6 separate regions of the Homo sapiens genome follow, and all the other regions are linked to region 1. The links are contacts of gene promoters, found by promoter capture Hi-C in blood cells and fetal thymus (Javierre and others, 2016). All regions are on one chromosome and are shown on one strand. Each heading gives the region's core, a stretch centred on a gene start or on the middle of the fragment in contact. The rest is flanking DNA. Distances are from core to core; before and after follow the strand shown. Region 1 holds the start of LINC01996 (long intergenic non-protein coding RNA 1996). Region 2 overlaps CYB5D2 (cytochrome b5 domain containing 2). Region 3 holds the start of SLC52A1 (solute carrier family 52 member 1). Region 4 overlaps ANKFY1 (ankyrin repeat and FYVE domain containing 1). Region 5 overlaps ANKFY1 (ankyrin repeat and FYVE domain containing 1). Region 6 holds the start of C17orf107 (chromosome 17 open reading frame 107).

Region 1 (5,141 bases), core at 951-3,450:
GGCACACCAAGTCCCTGGACCTTCATTGGGAAATAAAAATTCTCCACCACAAGAGACCAGGATCTGAATAAATGACTGATTCCACAGTTGGGGCAAGGAAAGTAAAAGGTCAGTCTGGAGCGCCTTGTGCCAGAAAGCAAGAATGTGCCCAAAGGCCGGGCACGGTGGCTCACGCCTGTAATCCCAGCACTTTGGGAGGCCGAGGTGGGCAGATCACCTGAGGTCAGGAGTTCAAGACCAGCCTGGCCAACATGGTGAAACCCCGTCTCTACTAAAAATATAAAAATTAGCCAGGCGTGGTGGCTTATGCCTGTAGTTCCAGCTACTCAGGAGGCTGAGGCACGAGAATCGCTTGAACCTGGGAGGTGGAGGTTGTAGTGAGCTGAGATCACGCCACTGCACTCCAGCCTGGGCAACAGAGTGAGACTCTGTCTCAAAAAAGTAAAAGAAAATAAAATGCTCAAAGAACCATGGGAATATGGCAAAAAGACACAAGAGCTGTCTTCTCCCTCTGAACAGTTTGAGCATCAAAAAAAATTATAACAGTAAGCGATTACAACACATTGAATTAAAAAAAAAAATCCATGGGCCTCCAGGAACACTCAAAAACTGAGTTGGAGGGAGGGAAAGACTTTCTTTACAGAAGAATGCCAGCCAGTAAACATCAAAGAAATATATGTTTTTTTTTTTTTTGAGATGGAGTCTCGCTCTGTCGCCCAGGCTGGAGTGCAGTGGCACGATCTCCGCTCACTGCAAGCTCCTCCCGGGTTCACGCCATTCTCCTGCCTCAGCCTCCTGAGTAGCTGGGACTACAGGCGCCCGCCACCACGCCCAGCTAATTTTTTGTATTTTTAGTAGAGACGGGGGTTTCACCGTACTAGCCAGGATGGTCTCGATCCCCTGACCTCGTGATTCGTCTGCCTCGGCCTCCCAAAGTGCTGGGATTACAGGCGTGAGCCACCGCGCCCGGCCAGAAATACAATTTTTTGAGACAGAGTTTCACTCTTGTTGCCCAGGCTGGAGTGCAATGGCTCAATCTCGGCTCACTGCAACCTCAACCAAATTGAGGTAAAACACTCAATTTGGACATCCACAGACTCCCCAAAGTCCTGGGCTATGAACCCTAATGTAGAAGAAGGAGCATAGAGCTTAGGTCACAGCACATAGGAGCAACAAGCCGAGGAGAGGAGGCTCTAATGAACAGAGGAGGGAAAGCAACAGCCAGAGAGGAGGGCAAGCCAGGAAGAGCCTCGGCAGCACAAATGCCACTCAGTCTGCAAACCAGATAAGGACGCTTGCACTGGGAGTGATTAAAACTCAGATCCCCGGCCGGGCGCAGTGGCTCATGCCTGTAATCCCAGCACTTTGGGAGGCCAAGGCAGGCGGATCACTTGAGGTCAGGAGTTCGAGACCAGCCTGACCAACATGGTGAAACCCCGTCTGTACTAAAAATACAAAAATTAGCCTGGCATGGTGGCGGGCGCCTGTACATCCAGCTACACAGGAGGCTGAGGCACGAGAATCGCTTGAACCTGGGAGGTGGAGGTTGCAGTGAGCCAAGATTGTGCCACTGCACTCCAGCCTGGGTGACAGAGTGAGACTCCGTCTCAAAAAAAACAAAAACAAACAAAAAATCAGAACCCTAAAGATCGATTTTATATCCACCTACGTGACAGTAAGAAAGCTGGATCAACTTCAGGAATGAAGGTGGACAGTCAAGACCTACGGTAACACTGTCTGGTGTCTCTCTGGTGCCACCACCCACATCACCTGCCTCTGGTTCAGGGCCCCTTCCCAGCTTGTCATCCCACCTACCTGGACCTTGTCCCTCCAGTGAAGGCTGCCCGGATGCCTCAGAGAGCACAGCCTTCTTAGCTTCATTCTTCCGGAGTGCTTTTCCTTATTTGGTGCTTTCTAGGGAGTAGGCAGGTCAGGTCTTAGGGATTTTTCTTTCTTTCTTTCTTTCTTTTTTGAGACAGGGTCTCACTCTATCTCCAGGCAGTGGCACAACCATCGCTCACTGATGCCTTGACCTCCCAGGCTCAAGCCATCCTCCCGCCTTGGCCTTCCAAGTAATGGGGACTACAAGCATGTGTCACTACACCTGGCTAATTTTAAAACTTTCTGTAGAGACAGAGTCTCACTCTGTTGCCCAGGCTGGTCTCAAACTCCAGAGCTCAAATATTTGTCCTGTCTCGGCCTCCCAAAGTGCTAGGACTACAGGCATGAGCCACCGCGCCCAGCCTAGGAATTTTTAAGGTGTTCTTTCAAAAGACTATGAGGGCTGTTTGGTATCAAAGCAAGTCCAAGAACCAAGAGATAAGAGATCAAAAGCTCTAAAAGCAAACCCAATCCAAGCTTTAAAAGTGAGAGAGATAAGATGGCTCAGAAATAATCATACTGGGTCCATTTATCAGGTGGTTGGGAGAGCACAGCTAACAGAGGGAGAAAAAATAAATCAAGTGGGCCACGTCCACAGGCGTAATCAACTCATCAGAATGAGTTGGTCACCTGTCACCAGCTAGAAAAACCCAAGCCAGAGTTGGTTCTGCTGGACTGGTAAGATGTCCCACCCCAAACTGACCAACTGAATCAGCATTTCTAGTCTTCTGTGCAATTGCCTGCAGTCGTATAGACCCGGTCATGATGGCAGAGAATAAAATCTTCTCTCACACCGGTCTCCAGTTACAGAGTTCTGATCACTGCAACCGGGAAAGCTGAGAACTCTTCATCATCTAGCACATTTGCGAAATTCATTGGCTTTAACAAACTGTTCCCCAAACACCTGGCCTGTGCGGTCTCCTCTCACCAGCATGTGCTCTGTCATATTCAGAAAGTGCTTATAGGCTCTCGCTTGCCTTGAAAAATATCCATCAGCTATCAGAAAAGCTAAAACCCATCGTGGCTCTGGTGAAACGTTCACTTCAGGGAAACACACAAGCCAATTTGGTCCGACTTAATAAGTTTAACAAAATCCAGGTGAAGGAATCTATCTGGAAAAACAGAAGACTCTTATGAGCAGCTCCAAGAAATAATTCTCTCGGGAAAGGGGAAAAAAGATGTGAATTCCTCCATACCAGGGTAGAAAGCAAGATGAAATTGGGTCTCACAAATGGGGAACATTCACGTAACCCCGACCTAAAACGGTGGTTTCCAAATATCTTAGGATTGTGAGACCTTCCTGGATTTTCTTCTCATGCTTTGTCTTAGAGGTAAAATCATGTTTGAAACTCACAAACTGTCTTATGATCTCTCACCCCCCACCCCCAACAAAGACCACAGACAAGAACATCATGGAACCAACTTTAAAAACTCGAGTCTGTCTCATTCTGAATGTGAGACATGAGGGACACCATTCCTAAAGTTTAAAAGAAATTGTTCTGCATTCTGGCAGGATCTGCTCTGTTTCATGCGCAGAGCGTACGGCCATGTCTGCAACTCGGGAGAGCTCCATTTAACGTGTGCGAGGACTCAGTAACATATAGCCATGCTTTTTACAGAGCCCTTGTGTTCCCAGATTGGCTTCAGGTTTGAAACCCTAACCTTCAGTTATGTGTCCTGTTAATAATAGGTCTCACCTCCCCAAGCGTACAAGAGACGAGAGAGCTAGCAAGGGAATGGTTTCCAGAGTGGGAGAATCCGAGAGAGAGGGCAAGACTGCAGCCTGGACCAACCAATCCATGGAGAATACTGCTCACCCACCTGCAGGCTCTGCCATGTTCCTCCTGACACCCCCAGGGATCTCCTGCCCACCCCCCAATATACCACCCAAGGGACACGTGGGACCCCACAAAGGCACACAGGCACTGGTGTTGAGAGCCGGCTGCATGAGGTGAAGACACAGATCCGCTCCTTAAAGGGAAGGTTTAGAAGTGCATGGCTAAAATCCAACCCAATTATACAATGATTCTTGGCTGAGAATAAGCTAATGGCTGGAGCTCTATAGAATCTCAAGATTTTTCTATGAAAGTCCTACCACCAAACAGCTGTGAAAATAAACCAACGTTCCTTGATGGGCTTCCTCCAAGTGCGGGACCACCCCAAACCCTGCTGTCTTGGGCCACTGTTTATCACAAACACTGCGGTCTACATCCAGAGGACGGATCTCAAGGGGAACTTTCTGTTGACGCTCCTTCCACAACATGGAGATGGGAGACAGGCACACTCAGAGATGATCAGAGATGACAGCAAATGCCATCTTCAGCTTTCCAGGCCAGTGATTTAAGTGCAGGAACAGGGGTGGAATGTAGTGGATATTCACTTGGAAGGTGTGCAAAGTCTCTTATTCACAGAACTCCCATCTCCTAAACAGAAATGACAAACCCCAAGCAAAATTCAACACATCTTTTTTATGTATAAATGGGTCAGTGGTACAGAGGGAGTTACTTTTTATAAATATCTGCAGCAAATCCCCTAAAAAAGATGTGAATAAAAACTCTCTCTCAGCACAAAGGGCCTATTCCTTCCCCAAAAGTGTTAAATTCCCGAGAGCCTGTGCTTAGCCAAACACTTGTGGGGCCTCCTGGGAAGAACAGGAGGACTTTGGGACCGAGAGGAGAGCCTTCCCATCTCCCCGGAGAGCGGAGGTGACTTGAAGGTCATCTGTTGCCCAGGACTTGGGAGTGATTAAACTGTTTCTTCCCAAGACTTGAGGTCTTCTTTGTCAAGCTGCTGATTAAGCGGTCTCTCTGTTTCCTGGCAGTGGCCCAGAGGGAGGGAGGAGAGGAACCTACAATCGCGTGAGGAAGTAAAAAACTCTGGGTATTTTGATAAAAAAAAACACTTGGTAATCACTGTAACCCTGTAAAGCCGATGTATCGAATTCACCAGAGGGAAAATTGTAGATTAGCATTCTGGAAGCTATAAACACAAGCATTTCTTTAGGAAGATCATTACTTAGCACCAATGTCTCTCTCTCTCTCATAATTTTTCCTTTTCCTCCAAGCCCTTGGCTGTGATCAGTGCTGTCGGACCACAGCTCAGCAGTACTTTTAATCAGTAACACAGCTGGGCTCGAAGGGGAGTGCCGTCACATGCCACAGAACAAACAGCGCGCTCACACCAAACGGCAAGGCTCCTGGGGGCATCCTGGCTGGGGAATCGCAAGCGGACCCCCGGCCTCTTCCTGGGGCTGCTCTTTG
Region 2 (5,141 bases), core at 1,497-3,996, 450 kb after region 1:
TAGGGGCACAGAGCCGAGTCGTGGATATCGGGGTATGGAGCCGAGTCGTGGATACAGGGGTACGGCGCTGAGTCATGTGGATACAGGGGTACGGAGCTGAGTCATGTGGATTATAGGGGTACGGAGCTGGGTCGTGGATATAGGGGTACGGAGCTGAGTCATGTGGATTATAGGGGTACGGAGCTGAGTCATGTGGATATAGGGGTACGGAGCTGAGTCGTGGATATAGGGGTACGGCGCTGAGTCATGTGGATTATAGGGGTACAGAGCTGAGTCATGTGGATATAGGGGTACGGCGCTGAGTCATGTGGATATAGGGGTACGGCGCTGAGTCATGTGGATATAGGGGTACGGACAGTCGTGGATTATAGGGGTACAGAGCTCAGTCATGTGGATATAGGGGTACATAGCTGAGTCATGTGGATATAGGGGTACGGAGCTGAGTCATGTGAATATAGGGGTACGGAGCTGAGTTGTGGATATAGGGATATGGAGCTGAGTCGTGGATATAGGGGTACGGAGCTGAGTCATGTGGATATAGGGGTATGGAGCTGAATCACACTGGGGCTCTGTCCTCAGAGTGTCTGAGGTCCAGTGCAAGAGGTTGATAGGAAGTTCATGGTAAGAGCCCACTGTGATATGAGCACAGCCATGGAGCAGGGAAAGTGCGTCTATAGCTCACTGCTGGCCCAACAGTTAATGAAGGCTCCCAAGAGGGGCCTGATTGAGCTGAATATTGAAGCAATACGGGGTGGATTAATTCAACGGAGGAAGAAGCGTCATTCCAGGCAAAAGAAACAGCTTGTGTGAAGGCACTGCAGACATAACGCAGTGAGAGGGAGGCTGGACAGGAGGTGCACATGGGAGGAGATGGGAAAGGTACAGGCCTAAGAGGAGAGAGGCCACAGAAGGGCCTCGTGTGGCACGCAGCAGAGGAGCTGGCACTCAGTCCTTATAGATCAGGGGAGCCCCTGAGGAGGCTTAAATGGGGGATGCCTTGATCATCTTTAAGAAAGAGCTTGGCCAGGTGCGGTGGCTCACGCATGCAATCCTGGCACTTTGGGAGGACGAGGTGGGTGGATCACAAGGTCAGGATTTCGAGACCAGCCTGACCAACATAGTGAAACCCCATCTCTACTAAGAGTACAAAAATTAGCTGGGTGTAGTGGCACGTGCCTGTAATCCCCAGCTACTTGGGAGGCTGAGGCAGGAGAATCGCTTGAACCCAGGGAGTGGAGGTTGCAGTGAGCCAAGATTGTGCCACCGAGGTTGCAGTGAGCCGAGATCGCGCCACTGTACTCCAGCCTGGGCAAAAGAGCAAGACTCCATCTCAAAAAAAAAAAAAGAAAGAAAGAAAGAAAGAAAGACGGCTCCCAGCAGTGTGGAGGAGGGATTGGAGGGAGGGAGTACAGTTAGGATCCTTCAGTAATCCAAGTGAGAAATGACAGCCTAGGCCAGAGGAAGAGTACTAGGGACAGATAAGAGGGAAGGAAAGGGAGAGAATGAGGGAGGCAGAGGTCCCAGGACCTGCAGGCGGGTTAGGAGGAGGGAAGGGAGGATGGAGTGTGGACGGCTGCTCGGATGCTGACTCTGCGTGTAGCTGGTGGTGCCATTCCCTTGGAGAACTAGAAGCAGCATGGGAGGGGAAGGTGAAATGCTCTGCAAAGCTGCCTGGAGTAGACGTGCAGGTTTGACGGTCTAAGTAACTGTCGGATTTGGAGTGAGAGGAGCCAATGGGAAGGGGTTTGTGGAGGCAAAACGGGGTTCTCAAGGCAATTAAGAAGGAATGGGCAGAGGCAAAAAGGGAAGCAGGATAAAGCCCAGCGAGGGTTTCATGGAGGACCCCACGGTCCACAGTATCCAGAGTGACAAAGCCTAGGTAAGAACTGGATGTGACCACGGAATGTGCCAATGCAGAATTTCTCCTGATTTTTAGAGCAAATGGAGCTGAAAAGCAAAGCTAGTGAGTATAAGCCAAAACTGGAGTTGAGGGAATGTTTATGATGTGAGAGAAGTGAGCTGTTTGATGCATACCTGGGGGAAGATCCAGGAGACGGGGAGAGGTTAAAGGTACAAGAGGGGCAGGTGAGGAGGATGGCGGGGGCAGGCAAAAGGAGCCATGAGCCAGAGCCCAAGTGTAAGGAACAGCTGTGGCCATAGGGGCAATAAGCCCGGGTCTGCCAGTGAGGGGACAGGGGCAGTGAGCACGGGTCTGCCAGTGAGGGGACAGGGGCAGTGAGCACGGGTCTGCCAGTGAAGGGGACAGGGGCAGTGAGTACGGGTCTGCCAGTGAAGGGGAGGCAGCCTCCATTTTCTAGTCTGTGAATCTGGAAAGCGATTTAGTGAAATGAATGATGGAGAAAAAGGAGACAGTGACAGAGAGGGAGGAAGCTGGTGGATGTTGAGGGTGAGACTGAGCGGCAAAGGGAGCTGGGTGGAAGCTCTGATGAGGCGATGCACAGAGGCCGTGGCGCTGTCTGTGGTAGTGCTGGTCCCACTTCTCTGTCTGAAGTAGGAACACTCCTTGCCCCCATCTACCTTCACAAGTAGTCAAGAGGTAACAGGTATGACATTGCCAGATGACGCTGGACATACAAACCACTGGACAAGCAGCAAGCCCAGCCACCTTAAGTTTGAAGCCTTGCCCAAGCTTTAATGTCATGCTAACCAGTTACCTTGTTAGAGCTGGGAAGCCACCTTTTGCTCAAAATGCAGACTTCTGCCTTTGAAAACACACCACACCTGATTTTAAGTGCTTAAAGGACAGAAAATGTCGTTGCTTTAAATTGTTGCTTTGTTCAGAGACATCTGGATTTGCTGTATCCATACAAGCAAAAGCTTTTCCAATTCCAGAATCAACCCACACTAATTTGTTATTGCCTCGTACTGTATTGGCCCAGCTGTAATCAACTCAGCAGGCTTTTGGTTGTAAATTCAAGTGGAAATTGAGTTGGTCTTATTTGTGCCCGTTGATATCTGAGGGCTGTGAGGAAGATGGCCAGTAGGTCAAAGGGAATAGTGTTGAAAAGCTGACCAGTACTGGGCAGGTGGCCGGCTGTCCCTCAGGCACCACAACGCCGAGCCACGGTAAGGGGCATGAGCCACATTTGCAGAATATAGCCAGAGTCCTTCCAGACCCTCCTGATTCGCGCCAGGAGGCATCCCAGGGCACACAAGTGTCAAGGGCCTACTCAGGTGCTTGGCAGAGCTCTCTGTGTGTTATTAACAGAAGAGGCTACGGCTTAGAGTGGAAAGGAGCATGTGATGGCTAGCGGTGGGCAGCCTGTGTACTCTGCCAAGTTTGGGTGGTCCAGGTCCCCACGATTTCTGTGTGGAGGGTTGTCCGGCATCTGGCCACTAGGGGGGCCGGTGGTTCTCACACACACGCAGCGGGGCTCCTTAGCACCTGGCTTATACAGCTTCCTGGGGACGCCAATCCAGTCTCTGCTCACACCTCCACTAAGGATAGACGGAAAGAGGACTTCTTAAATGTGAGAACTCATGAGTCTCTGGGAAGGGGAGAGCAGGAAGCAGAGAGCCAGGCCTTCTGAAAAGTAGAAGCCTACCAGAGTGTTTCCCAAGGCAGCAGGCTACAGCGCTCAGCCCCTGAGCCTTCATGCTCTCTCCTAACATCCTCCAGCTTCCCCTGCAGGGCCACCACCACCTTCCCCAGGCCAAGGGCACAGTCCATGGTTCCTTTCACTGTGCTCCCCAGCCCCTGCCCTGCCCCTTCTTAGGAGGCAGCACCACGTTCCTGCACTGGTGGCAACAGCTGTGAAAGGGCTTCCCCTGCTGGCCTGTGAGCTTCTCAGAAGCAGTGTCTGGGTGCGACTGTCCTCTTCCTTCCCCACTACAACCCAGCGCAGGTCAGGGTCTTCACCTTCTTCTCTGGGGCACTTGGCTGGGGGTGGGCAATTGGGCCCTGGCCCTTGGCCACCTGGGTCGGCCTTCTCTGGGAAGCCCTTGGCATAGAGTGTAGCTGCAAGCTGTCCTGTGCCCCACAGGTCCAGTCCTTGATGGCACTAGGCTTCAGACACGGAGGATTCAGCTGTGGCCCAACAACCTGAGCACCCTCCTATCTTGGGCAGGGGCCTTGCCCACCTCAGGGCACTGGGCTCAGTCTCTGATGGACTCAGAGGCCTTGCAAGAAAGAAACTGAGGTTCTTGGAACTGACGCCTCAGACAGCTTCCGGTGCCTGCTGTCAGAGAAACTGCCCCCAGCGAGAAAACATCCTACTTCTAGCTTACCAAGAACAAGGCTGTCACCCAAACGCCTCCCTCTTCTACCCAGCCTCCATCCCATCATTGGGGATCTGTACTCCACACCTTGTCCCTGCCTTCGGCACTTGTTCCTCTCAGTCTAATGGGACACACACAGGTGAACAGAAGACAACAAACTGAGCTGAGGCACAGGGATAGGGCCCCGCAGTTCACTAGGGTGGCCCTGGAAGGGTTTTGTGGGGAAGGCAGAGCCTGAACTACTCAGTCATGAAAGCAAGAAGAGGTTCAGGAGACACAGGGGAAGGCTGTGGGGAGGGAAAAGGAGGCAGGGCCCAAGGAAGCAAAGTCAAGCATCTGAACGCACGCAGGCCTCCTGGAGTCTCCTCCTCCTGGAGTCTCAGAGACCAGTGCTCTCTGAGGCTACCTGCATTCAGGCCTGTGTCACAGGAAGGCCCACGCCTATCTTAGCTTCTCTCCATAAAGTGAGCAGGCCAGGTTCTCACAGTCCCCTCTTTCTTGAGATGACACTGGAGAAGCTGTCTCTTCAAAGCTAGCGGCCAGGAAAGAAGGAGCTTTCCTTCCTGCTACCTTTGCCCTTGCTCCGCTCATTTAAGGCTGAGAACTCCGAATTTGCAGTGGTTTTTTTTGTTTGTTACTGTTTTTTTGTTATGTTGCCCAGGCTGGACTCCAACTCCTGAGCTCAAGCGACCTGCCTGCCTCAGTCTCCCAAGTAGCCAGGACCACAGGTGTGGCCCACAAGCCACCATGCCCGCCTCACCTGTTTTTAAGACAGCAGTTGAAGCCATCACTGCAGGTACCCTCCCCACCTCCTCGTCCCTCTCCTATAGATAGGCATGATTTGTGCTGTCAAACAGGAAACCAAAGCCCGTGGGTGGCTGAGCAGGCCAAAGAAAGCAAGA
Region 3 (5,141 bases), core at 793-3,292, 420 kb before region 1:
AGCTCACTGCAACCTCCACCTCCCTGGTTCAAGCGATTCTCATATCTCAGCCTCCCGAGTAGCTGGGATTACAGGCGCCCGCCACCATACCCAGCTAATTTGTGTATTTTTAGTAGAGACGGGGTTCACCATGTTGGCCAGGCTGGTCTTGAACTCCTGATCTCAGGTGATCAGCCCGCCTCGGCCTCCCAAAGTGTTGGGATTACAGGCGTGAGCCACCACGCCTGGCCTACCGAAATTTAAATTTCATATGCTTTTAGTTTTCACGGGTTAGGAAATACGATTCTTTTGTTTTCTTTGTTTTTTGTTTTGTTTTGGTTTTAGACAGGGTCTCACTGTCACCCAAGCTGGAGTACATTGGCACAATCATGGCTCATTGCAGCCTTGACCTCCTGTGCTCAAGGGATGCTCTCACCTCAGACGCCTGAGTAGCTGGGACTACAGATATTGATTTTTTTTTCCAACCATTTAAAAATGTAAAAACAGCTGGACGTGGTGGCATGTGCTTGTAGTCCCAGCTGCTCAGGAGGCTGAGGTGGGAGGATCCTTGAGCCCAGGTATTTGAGGCTGCAGTGAGCTGTGATTGTGCTACTGCACTTCCTTTTGAGGAAGACACTTTCTCAAAAATAGTAATAAAAATAAATAAATAAATATGTGAAAACCTGTCTTAGCTAGCAGGCCATACAAAAATGGGTAGTAGGTCAGGGTAATCCCTGAGATGGTCAGTGAGTAAACAAGTACAAAATATCATTAAAGGGCCAGACATGGTGGCTCACGCCTGTAATCCCAGCACTTTGGGAGGCTGAGGCGGGCGGATCACCTGAGGTCAGGAGTTCGAGACGAGCCTGGCCAATATGGTGAAACCCCATCTCTACGAAAAATACAAAAATTATCCAGGCGTGGTGGCAGGCGTCTGTAATCCCAGCTACTCGGGAGTCTGAGGCAGGAGAATGGCGTGAACCTGGAAGGTGGAGCTTGCAGTGAGCCGAGATCGCGCCACTGCACTCCAGCCTGGGCGACAGAGCGAGACTCCGTCTCAAAAAAAAAAAAAAAAAAAAAAAAAAGCAAAAATTAGCCAGGTGTGCACACCACGTCCAGCTAATTTTTTTTCAACCATTTAAAAGTGTAAAAACAGCTGGCCAGGCACGGTGGCTCACGCCTGTAATCCCCAACACTTTGGGAGGCCGGGGCAGGTGGATCACCTGAGGTCAGGAGTTCAAGACCAGCCTAGCTAACATGGCGAGACCCTGTGCACTAAAAAGACAAAAATTAGCAGGGCATGGTGGTGGGCGCCTGTAATTCCAGCTACTCGGGAGGCTGAGGCAGGAGAATGGCTTGAACCCGGGAGGCAGAGGCTCGTGCCATTGCACTCCAGCCTGGGCAACAAGAGCAAAACTCCGTCTCAAAAAAAAAAAAAAAAAAAAAAAGTGTAAAAACAGCTGAGCGTGGCGGTAGCTAGGTGTGGTGCGTCTGTAGTCCCAGCTACTTGGGAGGCTGAGGTAGGAAGATTGCTTGAGCCCAGGAGTGCCAAGCCAGCCTGAGCAACATAGTGAGACCTTGTCTCTACCAAAAAAAAAAAAAAAAAAAAAAAAAATTAGCTGGACATGGTGATGCTCGCCTGTGGTCCCAGCTACTTGTGGGGGGGTGGGGAGAGGCTGAGTGGGAGGATCCCTTGAGCTTGGGAGGTTGAGGCTGTAGTGAGCCGCGATCGCGCACCGCTGCGCTCTAGCCTGGGTGACAGAGTGAGACCCCGTCTCAAAATTAATTAATTAATTAAAACAACAAACAACAAAACCCCAGCTGTGTGGGCTCTGGGCTGGGCCGCCTCCCCGGCGGAGGGGGCTCCCTCTCAGGCAGACCGCCAGCCGCTGGGTCCGGGGACTGCCGGATCCGGAGGTGCGGGGACCCCTGCGCACCTGGCGGCTCCCGGGATGCCCCCCTGAGGCAGGCGGGAGGGCAGCACGGAGACGCCCCTCCGGGCAGAGCCCGCCCCAGCCACTCCCCTCTCCAACTCGACCTGCCTCAGCAAGTCCTGAGTGTCGCAAAAGCGCTAGGGTTGCAAGTGGCACCAGAGACGTGCCCTTGTCCCGGGGTCCATTTGAGGGTGAGCGTGTTGGTGCCGAGCTGTTTTTTTGTTTTGTTTTGTTTTGTTTTGTTTTTGAGACCGAATCTCGTTCTGTCGCCCAGGCTGGAATGCAGTGGTGTGATCTTGGCTCACTGCAACCTCCACCTTCCGGGTTCAAGTGAATCTCCTGCCTCAGCCTCCTGAGTAGCTGGGATTACTGGCACCCACCACCACGACCAGCTAATTTTTGTATTTTTAGTAGAGACGGGTTTTCACCATGTTGGCCAGGATGGTCTCAATCTCCTGACCTCAGGCGATCTGCCTTCCTCAGCTTCCCAAAGTGCTGGGATTACAGGTGTGAGCCACCGCACCCGGCCAGTGCTGAGCTGTTTTGACAACTTGGACCCCGGGTCCTCTGTGGGTAGGAAAATCAGCTCCCTCTTTGCTCCTCTGGGGCAGCTGCACCTCGGGCCAGCTTTCTGCCTGTCTGCCTGCCGGCACTGCTGGGTCGCTGTACCCAAACGCACAGCCGGTGCCCCGTGGTAAGTCCTGGCTCCCCACCTTCCCCGCCCGCCCCCGGCCACCTCTCCCTCCAGTTGCCCTGGTCTTAGCAGTCTGACCGACTTGTCTTCTGACTCCGGTTCTGTCCCACCAGCCTATTACCTGCCAGCCTGTCTGTTTCCCTCCAGCTAGAAGGTCTTCAGTTTCCAGAAGAACCAAAGCATCTTTGGACCTACCTAGGGAAGGACCTGCCTGTGACCTTTGCCCTGTCCTGGAGGGTCCAGCTTTGGGCTGAATGGCAGCACCCACGCTGGGCCGTCTGGTGCTGACCCACCTGCTGGTGGCCCTTTTTGGCATGGGCTCCTGGGCTGCTGTGAACGGGATCTGGGTGGAGCTGCCTGTGGTGGTAAAAGACCTTCCAGAGGGTGAGTGGGAGGGAGGTACAGGGAAGCGTGGGGCAGGTATGCCCAGAAAGGTGGCCTGTGGCAGCTCTTTGTCCCTTAGCCACTGTGCTCCTGACATGGCATCATTCCTTCCCTGCAGGTTGGAGCCTCCCCTCATACCTCTCTGTGGTTGTGGCGCTGGGAAACCTGGGTCTGCTGGTGGTGACCCTGTGGAGGCAGCTGGCCCCGGGCAAGGGCGAGCAGGTCCCCATCCAGGTGGTACAGGTGCTGAGTGTAGTGGGCACAGCCCTGCTGGCCCCTCTGTGGCACCACGTGGCCCCAGTGGCAGGGCAGCTCCACTCTGTGGCCTTCCTAACTCTGGCCTTGGTGTTGGCAATGGCCTGTTGTACCTCTAATGTCACTTTCCTGCCCTTCCTGAGCCACCTGCCACCTCCTTTCTTACGGTCTTTCTTCCTGGGTCAGGGTCTCAGTGCCCTACTCCCCTGTGTGCTGGCCCTAGTGCAAGGTGTGGGCCGCCTCGAGTGCCCACCAGCGCCCACCAATGGCACCTCTGGGCCTCCCCTCGACTTCCCTGAGCGTTTTCCTGCCAGCACCTTCTTCTGGGCACTGACTGCCCTTCTGGTCACTTCAGCTGCCGCCTTCCGGGGTCTCCTGTTGCTGTTGCCATCACTACCCTCTGTAACCACAGGGGGCTCAGGGCCTGAACTTCAACTGGGATCCCCAGGAGCAGAGGAGGAAGAGAAGGAGGAAGAAGAGGCTTTGCCATTGCAGGAGCCACCGAGCCAGGCAGCAGGCACCATCCCTGGCCCAGACCCTGAGGCCCATCAGCTGTTCTCAGCCCATGGTGCCTTCCTGCTGGGCCTGATGGCCTTCACCAGTGCCGTGACCAATGGCGTGCTGCCTTCTGTGCAGAGCTTTTCCTGTTTGCCCTATGGGCGCCTGGCCTACCACCTGGCTGTGGTGCTGGGCAGTGCCGCCAACCCCCTTGCCTGCTTCCTGGCCATGGGCGTGCTGTGCAGGTGCAAAAGGGTCCCCAGGCTTGGTGGGTGGAACTTAAGGTTGGGGTCCAGGTCCCAGAACAGCCAGCCCTGAGTCTCTGCTCATCCCCAACAGGTCCCTGGCAGGGCTGGTTGGTCTTTCTCTGCTGGGCATGCTCTTTGGGGCCTACCTGATGGCACTGGCAATCCTGAGCCCCTGCCCACCCCTGGTGGGCACCACTGCAGGGGTGGTCCTTGTGGTGAGCAAGTGGAGACATGAAGTGGGGAGGAGGGTGTCCCCTGGAGCAAGTGCATGTCATGCTCAGCCTGCTGCTGTGTCCTCCCTTGCAGGTGCTGTCGTGGGTGCTGTGTCTGTGTGTGTTCTCATATGTGAAGGTGGCTGCAAGCTCCCTGCTGCATGGTGGGGGTCGGCCGGCATTGCTGGCAGCTGGTGTGGCCATCCAAGTGGGCTCCCTGCTTGGTGCCGGTGCCATGTTCCCTCCCACCAGCATCTACCACGTGTTTCAAAGCAGAAAGGACTGTGTAGACCCCTGTGGCCCCTGAGCCTGGGCAGGTGGGGACCCAACTCCACCCCACCTGTCTTCATCGTGAGGCTGCCACAGTGCCTGACTACTTGTGGCCCAGGCAGGCTTCCCCCAACACAGGAACGCTCATGGACACCTGCACACTCCACAGAAGACGTTGGCATGTGAGGCCAGGGTGGGCACCAAAGACCAGGCCCAGAGCCAGGGGACAGGTTGGGGCTGTGGGCTTGGACCCAGGGCCTGAGACCTTTGTGGGATTTGTGCAATAAAGTGTTTTTATTTAAAACCAAAAACAAAAACAAAAGCCTAATGAAAACCTTATAAGAAATATATAATGAAATCAGGAAACTGGATTAAATAATTTTTCATACATATATTATCTAGTGTGCAATTAGATTTAAATACAGATTGTAGTGCCTTTCTTATATCCACAGCTTATCTCTTCTTCTGTGGGTTTTCTTGTCAAAAACCTTTCTTACTCAAGTGAGTCTCTGTCATTTGCTATGGGATTGGCCTTTAAAGACAACGGAGTCTCACTCTGTTGCTCAGGCTGGAGTGCAGTGGTGCAATCTCGGCTCACTGCAACCTCTGCCTCCCGGGTTCAAGCGATTCTCCTGCCTCAGCCTCCTGAGTAGCTGGGATTACAGGC
Region 4 (5,141 bases), core at 1,808-4,307, 410 kb after region 1:
GTACCTCTGAATCCCAGCTCTTGGGTTAACTTGCTATCACCCATCAGAGTCACACATGGGGACTTCAAGTTGCAAGTTGCAAATGATTTTTATTTGGAAGATGTTTAACTGAACCCTTGAAAGACTTTCCAGGCCAGGTGCCGTGGCTCACGCCTGTAATCCCAACACTTTGGGAGGCTGAGGTGGGCGGATTGCTTGAGCCCAGGAGTTCAAGACCAGCTTGGGCAATGGTAGCAAAACCCACCTCTACCAAAAACACAAAAAAATTAGCCGGGTATGTTGGCGTGCACCTGTAGTCCCAGCTACTCAGGAGGCTGAGCTGGGAGGATCAACTGAGCCCTGGAAGTTGAGGCTGCAGTGAGCCGTGATGATGACACTGCACTTCAGCCTGGGTGACAGAGTGAGACCCTGTCTCAAAAACAAAAAAAAAATCCCCAAAACCCAACTTTCCCGATATGAGCTCATTGATGCCACCTGGAGGCTACTGAGAGCAATTGCTTTCACCCAGCAAGGCGTGATGCCCCAAGCCTTTGTAACAGGTTTCTGTTCTGTGTGTTATGATGCTTTGCTATTCTTGCCTTGTTTTCTTAAGAAACATACATTTTATATATACATGGTGTTTGCGTGTTTTAAATGTTAAATATAACTAAATCCAAGAAAGACTGAACTTTTAATCTTACAACAAATTTAATTGCTTAATCCTTGTCATCCTCCAAGTTAACTTGACAAGTAAACTTTAACTGGTTTTTCAGAAGTATTTTTTAACACTAAATGGCCACTTGTCAGATTGCTTAGTTCCGAGTTTAACCATGTATTTGTAGAACCAATCTAGAGTCAATTTCTCTTTACTAGTGTCTGACAAAGTATTTTCACAAATGTGTACCATTAACATTTTCATCTTAATTCTTGGCCTTTTGTCAACATGTCAAGGTAGTTTTTTTCACTCCTACAGAGCATAAATAGTCAAAGATGGTAAATGAAACTATTAAAATTAATGAATTTTGGCCAGACACAGTGGCTTATGCCTGTAATCCCAGCACTTTGGGAGGCTGAGACAGGTGGATCCCTTCAGCCCAGGGGTTGGAGACCAGCCTGGGCAACATGGTGAAACCCCATCTCTACTAAAAATATAAAAAATAAGCCAGGCATGGTGGCATGCGTGCCTGTAGTCTCAGCTATTCAGGAGACTGAGTTAGGAGAATCCTCTGAGCCAAGAAGTTGAGTCTGCAATGAGCCGTGATCGTGCCAGTGCACCAGCCTGGGTGGCGGGGGTGAGACTCTGTCTCAAAAAATAAGAAGAAGAATGGTTTTTCTGTAAGTTACTCAGCCTTTGTTGAGTCAGGATCTCTCTCTGTCACCCAGGCTAGAGTGCAGTGGCACAGTCATAGCCCACTGCAGTCTCGAACTCTGGGGCTCAAGCGATCCTCCCACCTCATCCTCCTGAGTAGCTGGAACCACAGCTGTTGTCACCGCTCCTTGCTAAGTTTTTTTTTGTAGAGATGGGGTCTCCCCATGTTGCCAGGCTGGTCTTGAACTCTTGGGCTCAAGTGATCCTCCCACCTCGGCCTTCCAAAGACCTGGGATGTTATTCAGTCTTAATTTGATATCTGTAAATTGTCCTAGGTAGACTCTTATCTGTAATACTCCAAGAGGTAAGTCAATGGAAGGGATTTAGAAAGAAATTTTGTTTCCACAACAAGGTTATTTACCATGTGAAATTTTTGTAAATAGTAATGTGTACAGATACTCTGTTCAAATATTTCATTGTAAACTTCTTATTAAGTCAGTTATGTGTATATAATGAGATTACAAAACTAAAAAGAGGCCGGGCACGGTGGCTCACATCTGTAATCCCAGCATTTTGGGAGGCCGAGGCAGGTGGTTTTCCTGAGCTCAGGAGTTTGAGACCAGCCTGTACATCATGGTGAAACCCCGTCCCTACTAAAATACAAAAAATTAGCCAGGTGTGGTGGCACATGCCTATAGTCCCAGCTGCTTGGGAGGCTGAGACATGAGAATTGCTTGAATTTCGGAGGCGGAAGTTGCAGTGAGCTGAGATTGCACCACGGCACTCCAGCCTGGGTGACAGAGCAAGGCTCTGTCTGAAAAAAAAAAAAATCTAAAAAGAAAATAAATTTTATAATAATAAAACAGACATGGGATTACTCTGAGTAGGAACGTGAATGCAAGTACAGCAGAATGGGGGTAGGTGTTGCTTAGTTAGGTACAAGCTGTGGTCAGGAAATAAGAAAGAAAGAGAAAGAGAGAGAGAAATTGTGTAGGGAGGGATCCTGGAAACCCTTCTGAGAGATGACCGAAGGAGGCCTTTGAAGAGTAGAAGCCTAGTGTTCTTTTTTTTTTTTTTAAGACGGAGTTTTGCTCTTAATCCCCAGGCTGGAGTGCAATGATGTGGTCTCAGCTCACCGCAACCTCCACCCCCTGGGTTCAAGCGAATCTCGTGCCTCAGCCTCCCAAGTAGCTGGGATTACAGGCGTGCACCACCACGCCCGGCTAGTTTTGTATTTGTAGTAGAGACGGGGTTTTTCCCTGTTGGTCAGGCTGGTCTCCAACTCCCGACCCCAGGTGATCCGCCCACCTCGGCCTCCCAAAGTGTTGGGACGACAGGCATGAGCCACTGCGCCTGGCCCAGCCTAGTATTCTTAAACAGTGAAAGGATACTGAGGTGAGGAGGCAGGACAAGTGGTAACAGGTAACCAAAAATTGAGCAGAGCCTTTTGAATTCGTCTGTAACTCCATGATCTCAATGAGTTTCCACTTACAGATGCCCCAAGAGGTTCCTTCAGACACATCTAGTTATCGCTCTCCTTTGTCTGCAGTCATTTTCTGCTCCCTCTTGAAGAAGCACTGGCCAGAATACTTTGCCCTGACACTGTTTCTTCTATTATTTCTTTTCAAGGAGATCTCTTTGCTGCCACTTTCCTCATTAAGAATGGGGCCTTTGTCAACGCTGCTACACTGGGTGCCCAGGAGACACCACTGCACCTTGTGGCCTTGTACAGTTCAAAGAAACACTCAGCAGATGTGATGTCTGAGATGGCGCAGATTGCAGAGGCCCTTCTGCAGGCTGGTGCCAACCCCAACATGCAGGACAGCAAGGGGAGGTAAGCTGGGGAGCAGACACTGTGCCCTTAGCACTGTTCTCAGAAGATATCTTACAGTAGCATGTAATTGGCATACGGGGAGTTCATGTTCTTTAGTTTGGCATTATTCAGTCTTATTTTCATTAAAGTCACAGACATCGATGTGTAGTAGTAGTGTCACTACTAAAACCAGAGGCATTTGGGGAAAACATTTCTATCCTGGGTAACTGAAGTCTTCGAGGTTTTTTTTGTGTGTTGTTTGTTTGTTTTTAATTGTGTCAGCATCTCACTCTGTCACCCAGGCTGGAGCGCAGTGGTATGATCTTGGCTCACTGCAGCCTCTACCTCCTGAGCACAGGTGATCCTCTCACCTCAGCCTCCTGAGTAGGTGAGACTACAGGCACACGCCACCCCACTTGGCTGATTTTTGTATTTTGGTGGAGACAGGGTTTTGCCATGTTGTCCAGGCTGGCCTCGAACTCCTGAGCTCAAGCAATCTGCCCACCTCGGTCTCCCAAAGTGCTGGGATTACGGGCGTGAGCCAGTTTTCGAGCTTTTAAGCAATTTGTATCTCATGTTTGAAGGAACCAGAGTGGTCATCTAGTCCAGTGCCTCCAAGGAAACCTTGTAGCATTTCTTAGAGTTGCTTGGATAGTTTGAAGAACTATTGAGGTCTAATTGTTAGAAAATTCTAATTGTTAGAAAATTCTCTATATTAAACCCAATTTTACCTTCTCGTAAACACTCCCACTTTATCTGCACAGCTTGCTACCTTTGTCCATAGCACGGCCCTTTGCATATTTAACAATATTTATTGTGTTCATTTTGCCCCTTTCCAGAAATAGTTGAGGATTCCTTGTGGTAGGATCTGAGAAAAGGCTACTTGTCTTGGGACAGTGGTGTGAGGGGCTGTGAAGGATAGTTAAGTCACCTGAATCACTGACCACAGTTGGGACCCGCTTGTCATTAGAACATTCTCAGTATTTTATACCTTTGAAAAACCTCTCAAAAAAAAGATTTTTTGTAAAGTTTGGTTGTCAGACAGGAGAATGTATTTATGTGATAGATAAGTACGTAAATAAGATGTAGCTTCATGAAATCTCAGTATCATGTGATAATTACCTTATTTCCTAAAATAATTGCATCCCTTTCCCTGCTGTTGATTCTTTCATTTTTTTCCTCCAACGGCAATAAACTCGCAGTGTGTGTGTGTGTGTGTGTGTGTGTGTGTGTGTGTGTGTGTGTGTGTAGTAGATGCAGCCTTGGGCTCTGACTCAAAGTGTGTGTTTTTGGGGGGAGGTGGGGGGCGGGGTAGGTGCAGCCTTGGGCCCTGACTCACTGTGTGGGTGGGGGGTGGTGGGGGGGGTGGGTGGGTAGGTGCAGCCTTGGGCCCTGACTCGGGGGTGTGTGTGTGTGTGTGTTAGTGGTGGCTCTGCAGTGCCAGTCTCCTGCAGGGCTCCCGAGTGCTAAATGAAAGCAGTGAAAGGGGTTAAATGCCGCTTTCATCAGTTCTTTCCTGTTGCTGCTCTGAGTGTGTTTGAGAAGAATAGAAGATTATGGGGGAGAGTTTCCTTTTAGAATTGATGGAGAAGAGATGAGGGAAAATCTGCACACCTGTGGCAGAAACTGCTGTTCTCAAGAAAATCCTGTCTGTGCCTTCAGGAAGGGGTTGGGATTGAGTTGGGGAGTATTTGAGATCACTTCCTTGAGCTGATTCTTGTCCATTTTGGCCGCTGAATAATGGTCACATATAAGCAGATCCGTTTTCAGGTTTTGATACTGGGTCATGGTTTTAGAAGCCTTGTAGAAATGTGGGATTTCTTGCGGGTGGTGATTCTGCCTGGGATTCTGGTTGCGTCTTGCCGTGAGTCATCCTGAACAGGCCTGTCCTGAACTGACCCCTCTTCTTTTGGATCCCGCAGGACTCCTTTACATGTGTCCATCATGGCCGGGAATGAATATGTGTTCAGTCAGCTGCTGCAGTGCAAACAGTACGTAGGGAGACACGCACAAGTGAGAAGGCGGTTGTGAGGGGGGATT
Region 5 (5,141 bases), core at 723-3,222, 360 kb after region 1:
CTACAGAGAGGTTGAGGAGCTTGAAGAATAAGGAAAAGGTCATCAAAGTGGGTGATTTGATCATTGTGACTATTTAGTAGAGTGATGTGGGTTGAAGCCAAGTTTCAGAAGGTTAGGGAGGTAAGGCAGGAAGTAGTGACCAAAGAGGACTCTTAAGAAATGGGTGGAGAAGGCAAAGTGTATGATAGACTGCGCAGTCAAGAGCATAACTGTGGAGAAGAGATGTTTGTCTAGGGGTGGGAGGCATTACTGTGAGCCTGTTTCTGAGGGTGAGGAGGTAAGCTTGGAGACAGGCATATCTTGAAGATGCAGTGGCTGCTGTTGTGGATTAGAGTTTGGTAAGAAGTGAGAGGTTACAGAATTCTAGGTGTTCCAGATAGATAAACTGCTTTCTTCCCTTTTCATTTGGCTCTGGCTGTCATTTTAACGTTCTAATTCTTTAAAATCACCAGCAGGGGGACAGGGCTTGTATGGCCTCTCAGCCAAATCTGACCTGAGACCTGTCGACTTGTTTTTATGCAGTCCTTAAGCTAAGAATTTATTTATATGTTATAGATGTAACATATAAAAATAACTTATAAATATTAACTATATTTTAAATATTTTAACCTGGTTGAAGAAAAATCAAAACAATGTATCATGATGTGAAAATTATATGAAATTCCATTTTCAGTGTTCATAAATAAAGTATTTTTAGGGAAACAGCCACATTCATTAATTTGTACTTTTGTGTTCCAACTGGCAGAGTTGAGTAGTGCCCCAGAGACTGTATGGCTCCCAAAGCCTAAAATATTTGCTATGTGGCCCTGTACGGAAAGTATGCCAACTCCTGACCTAGAAGGAAGAGTGTTCTAAAAATCATTCTTGGTTTCTCTTCTGACTGTGCCATATAACTTCTGAAGAGGTAATTTGCTGATTAACTACTTTTTTGCAGTAGACATTGCACTCTTTATTTTAGGCTATTTGTAATGAATGAAGATTTTTTTGTCTTAAGCATGTTTTGTTAACTCAAGAGTGATGAACTATCAGAAAGAATACTTATTGAAAGTCTGATCATAGACTGCACTCATGGAGAACAGATAGGTATTATTTGGAAAGAAATATGAGAAAATTGGAAGTTTCTGGCATTCTTCACTGATACTTAGCGTAGCTTTTTTGGTGAAACTCTAGGTTTTATCTATTATTTAAATTTCTAGGTTTGCTCTCCTCTCCTCTCTCCTCTCCTTTTTTGAGACAGAGTCTTGCTCTGTCACCCAGGCTGGAATGCAGTGGCATCATCTCTGGGACTACAGGCATGCGCCACCATGCCCGGCTAATTAAATTTCTAGGCTTGCTTTTCAAATGAAAGTTGGAAGGGGACAAAGAAAAAACCACGGCTGAAAACTGGTCACTTGATGAAGAATAAGTAGGCAGAGGAGTAGCAGCAGCGGTAAGCCTTACTAAACCAGACACTGTTCCGAGTGATTTAACCTATCCTAATGACTTTACACGTACTTCTCTGACAGTGGTCCCCAATCTTTTTGGCACCAGAGACTGGTTTCGTGGAAGACAGTTTGTCCATAGATGGGGTAGGGAAGGGAGTAGTTTCAGGATGAAACTGTTCCACCTCAGATCATCAGGCACTGGAGTCTCATAAGGAGCATGCAACCTAGATCCCTCGCATGCGCGGTTCACAGGAGGGTTCACGCTCCTGTGAGAATCTAATGCTGCTGCTGATCTCACAGGAGGCGGAGCTCAGGTGGTCATGCTGACTCGCCCGCAGCTCACCTCCTGCTGGGTGTGGCCCAGTTCCTAACATGCCACAAACTAGTACCCGTCCACGGCCTGGAGGTCGGGGACACCTGCTCTAAGATAGTATCATTAGTCTCATTTTCCATGTGAGAAGACTGAAGCACAGAGAGGAAGTAAGTAACTTGCCCAAGGTCACACAGCTAGTAAATGGGTAAGCTGGGGTCAAACCCAGTCAGTGAGACTCTGGAATGCGAGCTCTGGGCTATCAGTGTGCAGGGAGAATCTTGCAACACAGGACTGACTACCCCGGGTTGCCTTTCTAAGAATTGTAATAATAGCTAATATATTTTGACCACCTACTGCAGAGCAGGTTGTATTCTAAGGTTATTACATGTATTAGTACTTTCAGTGTTTACAACATCCTTGCAGGTGAAGAGAATGAGTCACCTGCCTAAGGTGTATCAAAACTAGGCAGTAGTGGGGCTGGGCTTGATCCCAGTCAGTCTGGCCCTAGAACCTGCACACTGTAAATTCTCTCTCCATTTTGCTCAGAATAATGTTGTACTTTTTCTTGTAAGAACTGTACAGCTTGGTGACACTTCAAGGACACATTTGCATTGCTGTTTGTAAGCAGACAGTATTCCCCACGGGCTGGTAATGTCTCAGCCATAAGCACTCCTCCATTATACTGTGAAATGGTATGGCAATTGAAGTAGCGCTGGTAAGTGCTCATAAGCTGCCTGAGTGCATTAGTGATCCTTTGGGTTTCCCCCGACAAAAGCTGCCGGGTGGGGGAGCATCTGTAATTTTGTGACTAAGAGCCCCAAATCATGCTAAAGCCCTCCTTTTATCTAGCTTCTTCTCTGCTCATTACCTTGGTAGTTTATATCTTGTGTCATTGTCCAGGCAGCTGCTACATATTTGAATCAGGAATTCTGTAGAGAGACTGGGGCTGTTGCTGTAGATTTTGGAATTTATGTGTATAACTGATATTTAAGGAAATGTGTATGGTTTCCTAGAGAGCAGAGAGGGGGAAGATGGCTGAAACAGAGCTTTCAGGATCTCCTCCATTTGAAGGCTTAGATAGAGGAATCAGCAACTTTGCAGTCATTTTTTTTTCTTTTTCTTTTTCTCTCTTTTTTTTTTTTAAGACAGGGTCTCTCTCTGTCACCCAGGCTGGAGTCAGTGGTGCGATCTCAGCTCACCACAACCTCTACGTCCTACCAGGCTCAAGCGAGCCTTCTGCCTCAGCCTCCTGAGTAGCTGGGACTACCGGTGCCCACTACCACCCCTGGCTCATTTTTGTATTTTTTTGTAGAGACGGGGTTTCACCATGTTGCCCAGGCTGGTCTCAAACTCATGGGCTTTAGAGATCCTCCTGCCTGGGACCCACAAAGTGCTGGGATTACAGGTGTGAAACACCACACCCAGCCTAGATTGCCCTTTTAACTCTTAAAAGAGGCACCTCCTAATCTGCCAAAATGCTTAATGCATAAATATTTGCAGATCAACAGTTTAAGTGAAATGGAAATGGAAATTCCCCAGCCAGCTATAGTCATGCTGGGTTGGAGGTCTTGAGGAGCAAAAGATTTAGGTTGGCTAGAATATGGTGTGATTGAAACCAAGGTTAGAGGGTTCAGGTTGCTTATGGAAGAAAAGGTTACCACTGTGGAAACTTGGGGGCTGTCTCTTGGCAAGTGGGATATAATTTTGTAGCCACCAGGTTGAACTAGCAAGATGTGGTATATACTATAGCCATCCTTTTCAGCTGACTTGCATAGCATCTGGTGAGTGGCTGATACTATTGTCAGTGAACTCTTGGAGGAGAGGGCGAGGCTTGGGCTCATAATTATTTGTATTTCTCGTAGAGAAATATACTGTGTTTATGTACTTTGTCTGTTTGACAAATCTGTTGACTGATACAAGCTTAAAAGGAGAATCTGACCAAGAAAATAAAAGATCGAAACCTTCTCTTGCATTTTCTGGGTCCAGTATGCTACAAACAAATACAGGCTTTATTTAAATCTTTTGAAGTAAGATACTACTTTTCTGGAACATTTTCTTTACACTAGCTTAAACCAGGAGGTCTCCTGCCACACTCCATTTGTATCCCCTATCAGAGTGCTCTCAGGGTTTACTGCGTTGGCTTAATTGCCTGTCTTCTCTATTACTCATAATTTTTTTTCTTTGGTTGTTTTTTGTTGTTGTTGTTTGTTTTTTGAGACGGACTGTCCTCTGTCACCCAGGCTGGAGTGCAGTGGCACGATCTTGGCTCACTGCAACCTTCACCTCCTGGGTTCCAGCGATTCTTCTGCCTCAGCCTCCTGAGTGGCTGGGACTACAGTTGTGTGCCACCACACCCAGATAATTTTTGTATTTTTAGTAGAGATGGGGTTTCACCATATTGGCCAGACTGATCTTGAACTGACCTCATGATCTGCCCGCCTCAGCCTCCCAAAGTGCTGGGATTACAGGCATGAGCCACCAGACCTGGCTGGTTGTTTTTTTTTTTTTTTTTTTGAGACAGGGTCTTGCTCTGTTGTCCAGGCTGGAGTACAGTGGCACAATCTCGGCTCTTTGCAGCCTGAACCTCCTAGGCTCAAGGGGATCCTCCTGCCTCAGCCTCCCAAGTATGGACACCTCTGGTCCTAGCTACTCTGGAGGCAGAGGCAGGTGGGTCGCTTGAGCCTGGGAGTGCAAGACAACGTAGCCCTGGCAACATAGCAAGGCCCATCTCTCCAAAAAACTTAAAAATTTATAGCCAGGTGTGATGGCACACACTTGTGGTCCCAGGTACTAGGGAGGCTGTCAGGAGGATCACTTGAGCCCAGGAGTTTGAGACCAGGCCTGGCAACATAGTGATACCCCATCTCTACAGAAAGTTTAAAATGTAGCCAGGCATGGTGGTAAGCACCTGTAGTCCTAGCTACTCTCGAGGCTGAGGTGGGAAGATCACTTGAGTTCAGGAGTTTCAGGAGTTTGAGTTCAGGAGTTTGAGGCTGTGATGAGCTAGGATTGTGCCACTGCGCTCCAGGCTGAGTGACAGAGACCCTATTTCTTTAAAAAGAAAAAGAAAAGATTGGGAAAGGATGCAGGGAAGCACGTGAAAGAGACAGAGAACCAGAATCAGAGGATGGTATTGTGGTTGCTGGAGTAAGAGAAGGGATGGACAACAGTGCAATGTGGTGTCAGAGGTCTAGGAGGAGAACCACTGGCAGGAGTCCATTGGACTTGGCAACTAGAGGGTCATAGGTGAGAGGAGTTTCAAGGGGATGGTGGGGACAGAAGAGGGAATGGCAGGTGAGACAGTGGTGTATGGTAGCTAGAGATGGCGGGGCTGAGGATTTCAGATGTGATGTGGAAGTGGGATGCTTTAATAGATAAGAGACTTAAACTGGCTCGTATGCTGA
Region 6 (2,500 bases), core at 1-2,500, 290 kb before region 1:
CGGAGCCCCCGCGGGGGTGTGGCCAGTGTGAAGGGTGGGGGCGTGGCCAAAACCCAGAGACCCCGGGAAAAGCTCTGGCTGTCTCGCCCCGCCCTGGGCTTTATTCGGACGCTGGGTGGGGCTGGTACGGGGATGGAGTCCCTGGTCCGCCGTCCTCCTCACTGCTGCTGGACGTCACCTGGAGGTCTCCCGAGTAGCTCTCTTGGGGGACAGTCCGGCTCAGTGCCTCCCTAGCCCCGCCGCCTCTGGCCCCTAACTCACCCCGTGTCCTGAGCTCACCGGTTCTCCGGGGATTCCGAGGCCTAGCTGCTGTTGCGACTGTCGCAGGAATGAGGCAGACCCCTGCAGACCCCGTCCACACAGGCATAGCCATGCTCCCTGGACTAGGAGCCGGGCGCTGGCGCCCACCGCAGCCCCAGCTTGCCGAACCCCCTGCCCTGCGGCTTGGGCTACCCGGCTCAGCGCTGCACCCGGATCCCTGCCGTCTGGGGCTGGGCCCGCGCTGCCGTCTAGTCGCCGCGCCTCCTGCTGCAGCCACAGGGCTGAGATCTGCATTGGGGGCACAGGGGTTAGCGGGGAGGCAGAGGTCCTTGTTCCCGCTACCCGATCGCCGCGTATCCTAAGCCCCCCAGTACCCCACCTCTAACAAGGTGGTGCCGAAGCTCACGAGGCTGGCTGTGGCTTCTCTCAACACCAGCCCCAGGGTGGGCTTCGGGGCAGGCAGCATCCCCTGCATCTTCGGTTCGGGTGGCTCCAGGGACTTCAGCTCTCTGAACCTCTGCTCCAGATATTCATGGGCTGCGGCCACGGAGAGTTCCAGGGAAGACAGAAGCGGGGGCTGGAGGGCCACCTGGAGAAGGAGCAGAGCAGTAGAGTAGCAGGGCAGGGGTCACAGGGGCGAACAGGAGACCTACCCAGAAGGTCTCGAGGTGCAGCCCTTGGCGGGCGTAGCCTCACCTCGGTGGAGCTGTGGAAGTGGTAGATCCACATCAGGGTGTCCAGGGAGCTGGGGGTCCCCTTCATGGCCGCCACAAGTGGTAGGACAGGAGAAGGGCTGGGGGACGCGTCTGTCGTCGTGTAGGGGGCGCAGCTGGAGGGCGTAACCAGCCCGTACCAGGAGAAGCCGTGTTTGTGAGGTCAGCGCGCGGCGCCTTCGGTAGCTGGGAGGAGGAACGGTGATGTCATGCCTTCCGGGCTCCTCAGGTTCCTTATTTTCGTCATGGTGGTCGCCACGCTCATTGTCATGAATTGCGTCATCGTGCTCAACGTGTCCCAGCGGACGCCCACCACCCACGCCATGTCCCCGCGGCTGCGCCACGTAAGCGCGGAGGGGGCGGTGCAGCCCGGGTCGGGGTGGGGCTTCGTACTAACCTCGTCCCCTAAGCCCCGCCCCTGCCCCAGGTTCTCCTGGAGCTGCTGCCGCGCCTCCTGGGCTCCCCGCCGCCGCCCGAGGCCCCCCGGGCCGCCTCGCCCCCAAGGCGGGCGTCGTCGGTGGGCTTATTGCTCCGCGCGGAGGAGCTGATACTGAAAAAGCCACGGAGCGAGCTCGTGTTTGAGGGGCAGAGGCACCGGCAGGGGACCTGGACGGGTGAGCACAGTGGCCCTGGCCCGGGGGGCCGCGCGGGGTGCCTGCCAGGGGGGAGGCTCCTAAGGCCCACCCCGGTGTTTTCCCCGCCAGCTGCCTTCTGCCAGAGCCTGGGCGCCGCCGCCCCCGAGGTCCGCTGCTGTGTGGATGCCGTGAACTTCGTGGCCGAGAGCACGAGAGATCAGGAGGCCACCGGCGAGGTGGGACAGGAGCCAGAGGCGGGTGGAGCGAGGCAGAGGCCCACCACTGTCTCCCATGCCGCTGGCTCCTGCAGCTGCCTCTTTACTGACTGTGCCGACCCTTCCCCAGGAAGTGTCCGACTGGGTGCGCATGGGGAATGCCCTTGACAACATCTGCTTCTGGGCCGCTCTGGTGCTCTTCAGCGTGGGCTCCAGCCTCATCTTCCTCGGGGCCTACTTCAACCGAGTGCCTGATCTCCCCTACGCGCCGTGTATCCAGCCTTAGCTCGCACCGACTTCAATTTCCCACCCATCTCCAGTAGGAAATTGATTTTGAAAAAGTAGGCTGCCGCCACCACGGCATTATGATCCCTTCCCCCTGCTGATCAATCTGCAGTTTGTGAACTTCACAAGAATGGTGTGTGCCCGTTCCCTGGCGTGTGTAGGCCTGGCCGCAGTCCAGGGGTCAGCAGGAGGAAAGGGTTCACATAGGCTCTCAGGTGCCAGTCTTCCAGAAAGCAAGGACTGCCCTTCATTCAGCCTTGCTGACCTCCCAGCCTTTCTAAGGCTCAGCCCCACGGGACTCTGGTGGCTGCCAGCTTGTGAGCTATCTATCTATATTCATTTCATAGCCAAACAGGAGACCCCTTTGCAGGACTTGCACACAGGGAGGCTGTAGCCAGGAAACCCTCTTCTTCCCTGGTCTGGCTCTGCTGGAGCGGGTGGGAACCAAACA

The links. The method cuts DNA at HindIII sites, captures the fragments that hold promoters and counts their contacts. A CHiCAGO score of 5 or more calls a contact.
Region 2: a fragment that was not itself captured here is called in contact with the fragment with the promoter of LINC01996 in region 1 in 1 of 17 cell types (total CD8 T cells); the score reaches 5.2 in total CD8 T cells.
Region 3: the fragment with the promoter of SLC52A1 here is called in contact with the fragment with the promoter of LINC01996 in region 1 in 3 of 17 cell types (neutrophils, naive CD8 T cells and naive CD4 T cells); the score reaches 12.0 in neutrophils.
Region 4: a contact is called between a fragment that was not itself captured here and the fragment with the promoter of LINC01996 in region 1, in 5 of 17 cell types (naive CD8 T cells, naive CD4 T cells, total CD4 T cells and 2 more). The highest score is 7.3, in naive CD8 T cells.
Region 5: a fragment that was not itself captured here is called in contact with the fragment with the promoter of LINC01996 in region 1 in 1 of 17 cell types (M2 macrophages); the score reaches 5.6 in M2 macrophages.
Region 6: the fragment with the promoter of C17orf107 here is called in contact with the fragment with the promoter of LINC01996 in region 1 in 3 of 17 cell types (neutrophils, erythroblasts and M2 macrophages); the score reaches 6.8 in neutrophils.

The regions. Positions count from the first base shown.
Region 1 is chr17:4,607,508-4,612,648 of GRCh38, reverse strand. LINC01996 (long intergenic non-protein coding RNA 1996) reads right to left here and starts at 2,200. Exons shown (of 2, transcript NR_145431.1): 1 at 1,816-2,200. SMTNL2 (smoothelin like 2) reads right to left here. Exons shown (of 8, transcript NM_001114974.2): 8 at 4,330-5,141. The HindIII fragment of the contact is 12,447 bases long and covers 1-2,360 here.
Region 2 is chr17:4,155,184-4,160,324 of GRCh38, reverse strand. It overlaps CYB5D2 (cytochrome b5 domain containing 2), which reads right to left. Exons shown (of 4, transcript NM_144611.4): 4 at 2,628-3,459. The coding sequence ends at 3,243. It overlaps LOC124903898 (a long non-coding RNA gene), which reads left to right and starts at 4,132. Exons shown (of 3, transcript XR_007065581.1): 1 at 4,132-4,378; 2 at 4,901-5,035. The HindIII fragment of the contact is 188 bases long and covers 2,653-2,840 here.
Region 3 is chr17:5,032,327-5,037,467 of GRCh38, reverse strand. It overlaps SLC52A1 (solute carrier family 52 member 1), which reads left to right and starts at 2,042. Exons shown (of 5, transcript NM_017986.4): 1 at 2,042-2,607; 2 at 2,755-2,991; 3 at 3,110-3,989; 4 at 4,084-4,207; 5 at 4,299-4,866. The coding sequence starts at 2,862. The coding sequence ends at 4,511. All of the region lies in intron 3 of LOC105371501 (a long non-coding RNA gene), which reads right to left. The HindIII fragment of the contact is 18,376 bases long and covers 1-5,141 here.
Region 4 is chr17:4,195,354-4,200,494 of GRCh38, reverse strand. ANKFY1 (ankyrin repeat and FYVE domain containing 1) reads left to right here. Exons shown (of 25, transcript NM_001330063.2): 8 at 2,918-3,122; 9 at 5,024-5,092. It also overlaps the pseudogene LOC100420060. Among named protein-coding and RNA genes, the nearest start is that of CYB5D2, 55 kb to the right of the region's middle. The HindIII fragment of the contact is 8,607 bases long and covers 1-5,141 here.
Region 5 is chr17:4,244,853-4,249,993 of GRCh38, reverse strand. The region is part of intron 1 of ANKFY1 (ankyrin repeat and FYVE domain containing 1); the gene reads left to right. Among named protein-coding and RNA genes, the nearest start is that of ANKFY1, 17 kb to the left of the region's middle. The HindIII fragment of the contact is 3,375 bases long and covers 285-3,659 here.
Region 6 is chr17:4,898,286-4,900,785 of GRCh38, reverse strand. It overlaps C17orf107 (chromosome 17 open reading frame 107), which reads right to left and starts at 1,250. Exons shown (of 3, transcript NM_001145536.2): 1 at 958-1,250; 2 at 641-850; 3 at 1-549. The coding sequence starts at 1,023. The coding sequence ends at 253. It overlaps CHRNE (cholinergic receptor nicotinic epsilon subunit), which reads left to right. Exons shown (of 12, transcript NM_000080.4): 9 at 1,204-1,318; 10 at 1,402-1,588; 11 at 1,679-1,785; 12 at 1,895-2,500. The coding sequence ends at 2,050. RefSeq lists an enhancer at 864-1,173 and silencers at 1,374-1,483, 1,504-1,653. The HindIII fragment of the contact is 47,734 bases long and covers 1-2,500 here.